Linked DNA regions of Homo sapiens: region 2 is linked to region 1. Evidence: promoter capture Hi-C in human tissues and cell types (Jung and others, 2019). All regions are on one chromosome and are shown on one strand. The core of a region is centred on a gene start or on the middle of the fragment in contact, and the rest is flanking DNA. Distances in the headings are between cores, read along the strand shown.

Region 1 (2,700 bases), core at 105-2,604:
CAGGCAAATTCTGGAAACACGTTTCTGCCCCCACTCCCAATACATGCGCATACACACACACACACACACATTAACCCATCCCAGTGCACACACATATGTCACGGCTGCAGGAAACCTAAATTTTTCTTTGGAAATTGGAAAACTCATCTAATAGAAAGTGAGAGGTTGTATTCTCTACAGTACATCCAATACCTTTTTACCCATCTCCCACACCCACTCCCCACGCACCGAATTGAGAGTTATTTAGCTTTTGTGTAGAATTAGTTTGGAATTGTGCTGGGTAGGGACACCCTGATCCCCACTCAACAGCAAAGAGATCTAAACCTCTCAGACATGTTGAAAGGCTGGTCCCAGGGCCTCCTGGAGAAGTGAGGTGGCCTTCAGGCTTCAGATAGCACCCAGCTCAGGCCCCTCACACTGACCTCCATCCAGGCCCTCCAGCTACTCAGACCTCCTTCAGAGTCCTAATAACCAAGGGAGGAGCACCAAGCTCATCCTCACCAGCTCCAAGTCTCCCTCCTCCTCCTCCCAGGGAAATGCCATTGGGACCCACAACCCCAGGCTCAGAGACAAGGGGACCCAGGGTAATAGAGGTACCTGCAAATGCTGCCTTCCAAAAGGGACCTGGTGGGTTCTGTTCTCCCTGGCAACACATCTGGCTGTTCCAGCCACCAGCGAGAGCCCAAGACTGGTAACTGTCCACAGGCAACAGGGAGTCATGTCGCGGTTCTCCAGGAGCACCCAGAGTCTGCACCACAGACACGTCCAGGTAACTGGCCATAGGCTGGTAGGTTCCCGGATATCCCGGATAGAAGGCAAACTCAGTGGGGCGGCTGGGGTACTCTTCCCCGGCCGTGGGAGTCTCCGCGGGGTACGCGGCCAGGGTGGCTGCCTGGGCACAGGGTTTCAGCGAGCTCCGGGACACTCGGCAGGAGTAGTACCCGCCTCCAAAGTAACCATAAGGCACGGGAGCTGGGGACGTCCCCTGGGGCACCCCAGGGCATGGGTGGCATTGCTTTGGCGGCTCCGCCGAGCCTGGCAGATCCAAGGGGGCATAGTTGACAGCAGGCATCAGCGTAGGCGCCGCTGGGTGGCTGGTCAGAGGGGAGTGGGCGACCAGATTCCGCCCCCCTCCCGCTCCCAGCAAGCCTTCGATATCCTTGGCTCCATCCAAGGTGGCATAATTGCCGGGCTCCATGGAGCCGAGGGTCGGCTCATGAGGTGCGGGGGCGGGGAATCTAGGGGGCACCCAGCTCGCTCTCCCCACCCAGGCCGGGGGAATCCAAAGCGTTTTAAATCGCTCCCAGCTCGCAAGTCGCCTGCATTCGCTCAGCACGGCCGTCTTGACGCAAGAGACGCAGGGGCCCGGGCACGCGCGCTGATTGGCTGCGGCCTGGGGGAGAGAAGCTAATAAAATCCTAAAGGCAGAAACTGCGAAAATACTTTACCCCAGCTTATTCTCTCTCTCTCTCTCTCTCTTTCTCTCTCTCTCTCTCTCTCTCTCTCTCTCTGTCTCTGTCTCTCTCTCTCGCTCTCTCGCTCTTTCTCTCCTCTCTCTCTTCTCCCTCTCTCTCTTCTTTTCCCTCTCCACTCCTCTCTCTCTCATTCCACTTAAAAACAACAAGAGAGAAAAGGAAGGAGGTGTCCTTTCGCTGCTTTCCAGTTTGCAGAGTCTCATTTACACGTCCGGGGGGAGGGGAGGCGTGGTGGGCGGAGGAAGAGGGGACGAGGAGCCGGGCCCCACCTCCTTCTCCTCCTCTCCCTCCCTAGCTTTCTGTCTCCTGCGCTTTGACAGGTTTAACGAGAGAATAAAAAGCTCTCTCTATAAAGTGTCCATCTCCTGGGGGGGAAGGGGAGTCGGGGGTGGGGCTGGGAGGCCGCTCCCGGCCTCAGAGGAGAACCCGGGAATGCGCCTGTGTAAGAGGAGGCTGGGAAATGGGGGTTAATAGGTATTTCTGGCAGCCCCTGGCTTTGGGTCCTGGGTACTAGCACCCCAGTTCATTCCCGGTACCCTTCCTGTCCCAGATGTCCTGGAATGAGCTGCTCCGGGCCCCAGGGAGGTGCCCTGGACGCCCCTTACCCAGGGACTCGCTACTGCCCAGAATGCTCTGGAGGCCCTGATTCGGGTGAGGCTGAGGGAAGAGGCGGGAGACACGAACGTAGACGTAGAAGACATGCGATCTGGATGGAACCCAGGACACTCCACTTCCGGACCTGAAGGGGAAATGGAGCCTCTAGAGTGGCCTGTGGAAGGGTCTGGATTTCCCTTTAAGTAAAGACATACGGAGGGACGGAGACCCACAGGACTTGAGGGAGGGACGGGGAGAGGGAGAGATGAGACTCAGGGACAGCAACACAAAGAGGGAAAGAGAGAAGCTGACAGAGCGGATGGGACAAAATCTTGTAAAATCCTGAAGTGTCAGTCAGAAAAGAGAAAGAAGAGAGGCACTTTCCCCCTTTTTTGGGATCTAAAGAAGTCTGAGGAAGCCAAGCCTGGCTGACTGCCAGAAACCAGCTGCGGGAGTTCTGGACCCCAAGAATACAGACGCCTGTGTGGAGATGCCAGTCTCCCTGCCCTGCAGTCCTCTCCCTATGGTCTGCAAGGGGCCCAGGAAACTGTCCCTGATACTGGCATACTCCCACACAAGCTGAGTACCCAGAAAGCCCAAGACCCCTATCTGCCTCCTGCAAGCTTTAAAC
Region 2 (2,700 bases), core at 138-2,637, 76 kb before region 1:
AGTGGCACAATCATAGCTCACTGCAGCCTTGAACTTCTGGGCTCAAGTGATCCTCCCGCCTCAGCCTCCCAAGTATCTGGGACTACAGGCGTGTGCCACCACTCCTGGCTTATTTAAAAAAGCACTGGGATTACAGGCATGAGCCTCCATGCACAGCTGTGGGAAGAGTTCTGATACAAATTCAATTTCTTGCCGGGCACAGTGGCTCACGCCTGTAATCCCAGCACTTTGGGAGGCCAAGGCAGGTGGATCACCCGAGGTCTGGAGTTTGAGACCACCTTGACCAACATGGAGAAACACTGTCTCTACTAAAAATACAAAATTAGCCGGGCGTGGTGGCACATGCTTGTAATCCCAGCTACTCGGGAGGCTGAGGCAGGAGAATCACTTGAACCAGGGAGGCAGAGGTTGCTGTGAGCCAAGATCGCGCCGTTGCACTACAGCCTGGGCAACAAGAGCAAAACTCCGTCTCAAAAAAAAAAAAAAAATTCAATTTCTTTTCATACATAAGACTATTCAGATTATATATTTCTTCTTGGGAAAGCTTTGGTAGTTTGTGTTTTTCAATAAATTTGTTAATGTATTCCATAGTGTTGAGTTTATTTGCATATAGTTGTTCCTAATATTTCCTTAGTATCTTCTTTTTAATGTCTATATGATCTGTAGTGATGTTCATTCATTCCTGATAATGGTAATTTGTGTTTTTTCTTTTTTTCTTGATCAGTCTGCCTTTTAAAAAACTGGCTGTTCTTAAAACTGGCTGGTTTCATTTTCTGTATTGTTTACACATTTTCTATTTCAGTAATTTTCACTCATCTATATTATTTCCTTCCTTCTGCTTACTTTGGGTTTAATTTGCTCTTTTATTTTTTTCTAACTTCTTAAGGTGCAAGCTTAAAGTGTTGCTGCCAGACCTTTCTTCTCTTCTAATGTAAGTATTTGATGCTATAATGTCCCTGTGAGCACTTCCTTAACTGCATTTACACTTTGTGACATGTGGTATTGTTCAATTTCCTTTAGTTCAAAATATTTTCTAATTTTCTTCATGCTTTCTTATTTGATCTACGGGTTAAGTTTGTGTTGTTTCATTTCCAGATGTTTTGGCTATTGTTGTTATTGATTTTCAGTTTACTTCTGTTCTGGTCAGGGAACATAATTTATATAATTTCAATCCTTCTCAATTTATTGAGAATTAATTTATGGCTCAGATTATGGTCTATTTTGGTGAATGTTCCATGTACACTTGAAAAGAATGTGGACTCCGCTATTGCTGAGTGGAATATCTGTAAAGATCGATAAGGTCAAAGTATTTGATGTTGTTCAAATCTTCTGTATACTTACTGATTTTCTTTTTACTTCTTCTATCAGTTACCAAGTGAAGAATGTTGAAATATCCAACTATAATTTGTGGATTTCTCCTTTCAATGCTATCATTTTTGGTGCTTCATGTATTTTTGAAGCTCTATTATTAGGTATGTACCACATTTAGGATTGATATATTTTCTTAGTGAAATGACCCCTTTGTCATTATGTAATGCTCTTCTTTGTCCATGGCTATAGTCCTTGTTCTAAAGCGTAACTTATTTTCTAATATATATATATATATATATATATATATATACATATATATACTAGAATATATATACAATAGATTATGTATCTATATTCTATATATGTATATATATACTAGTATGTATATGTGTGTGTGTGTGTGTGTGTGTGTGTGTGTATATATATATATATATATATATATATATATATATATATATATGGCCAGCGTGGTGGCTCATGCCTGTAATCCCAGCACTTTGGGAGGCCGAGGTGGGCAGATCTTTTGAGTCCAGGAGTTTGAGACAGACTGGCCAACATGGCAAAACCCCACCTCTACTAAAGTATACAAATTATGCCAGACGCGGTGGCTCACACCTGTAATCACAGCAGTTTAGGAGGCCGAGGCGGGTGGATCACTTGAGGTCAGCAGTTTGAGACCAGCCTGGCCAACATGGTGAAACCTCATCTCTACTAAAAATACAAAAATTAGCCTGGTGTGGTGGTGCATGCCTGTAATCCCAGCTACTCTGGAGACTGAGGCAGGAGAATTGCATGAACCCAGGAGGCAGAGGTTGCAGTGAGCCGAGATGGCACCATTGCACTCCAGCAATAGAGCGAGACTCTGTCTCAAAAAATAAAAATAAAAATAAAAAAATAACCGGGCGTGGTGGCGTGTGCCTGTAATCCCAGCCTCTGAGGAGGCTGAGGCACAAGAATCTCTTGAACCTGGGAGGTGAAGGTTGCAGTGAGCCATGATCACCACCACTGCACTCCAACCTGGGCAACAGAGATCCTGTCTCAAAAAAATATATATATATATCATATTAATATAGTCACTCAAACTTTTTTTTGATGTGAATGGGAATTTTTATCCTTTTATTGTTGATCTATCTGTGTCTCTATATTTAAAAGCGATTTATTGTGGGCAGAATATGGTTGAGTCTTGTGTTTGTTTGTTTGTTTGTTTGTTTTTGAGATGGAGTCTTGCTCTGTCACCCAGGCTGGAGTACAGTGGTGCAATCTCGGCTCACTGCAAGCTCCGCCTCCCGGGTTCATGCGGTTCTCCAGCCTCAGCCTCCTGAGTAGCTAGGACTACAGGCGAGTCTTGTGTTTTTATTCAGTCTGACAATCTCTACTCTTATATTGATA

Evidence for each region. Contacts are between HindIII fragments. The study calls those that stand out against the background at their distance.
Region 2: a fragment that was not itself captured here is called in contact with the fragment with the promoter of HOXB13 in region 1 in 2 of the 25 tissues and cell types used here (H1 embryonic stem cells and lymphoblastoid cells).

The regions. Positions count from the first base shown.
Region 1 is chr17:48,727,396-48,730,095 of GRCh38, forward strand. It overlaps HOXB13 (homeobox B13), which reads right to left and starts at 1,355. Exons shown (of 2, transcript NM_006361.6): 1 at 598-1,355. The coding sequence starts at 1,198. The HindIII fragment of the contact is 5,391 bases long and covers 840-2,700 here.
Region 2 is chr17:48,651,503-48,654,202 of GRCh38, forward strand. LINC02086 (long intergenic non-protein coding RNA 2086) reads left to right here. Exons shown (of 8, transcript NR_189645.1): 2 at 887-931; 3 at 1,369-1,472. Among named protein-coding and RNA genes, the nearest start is that of LINC03057, 6.0 kb to the left of the region's middle. The HindIII fragment of the contact is 3,865 bases long and covers 1-2,700 here.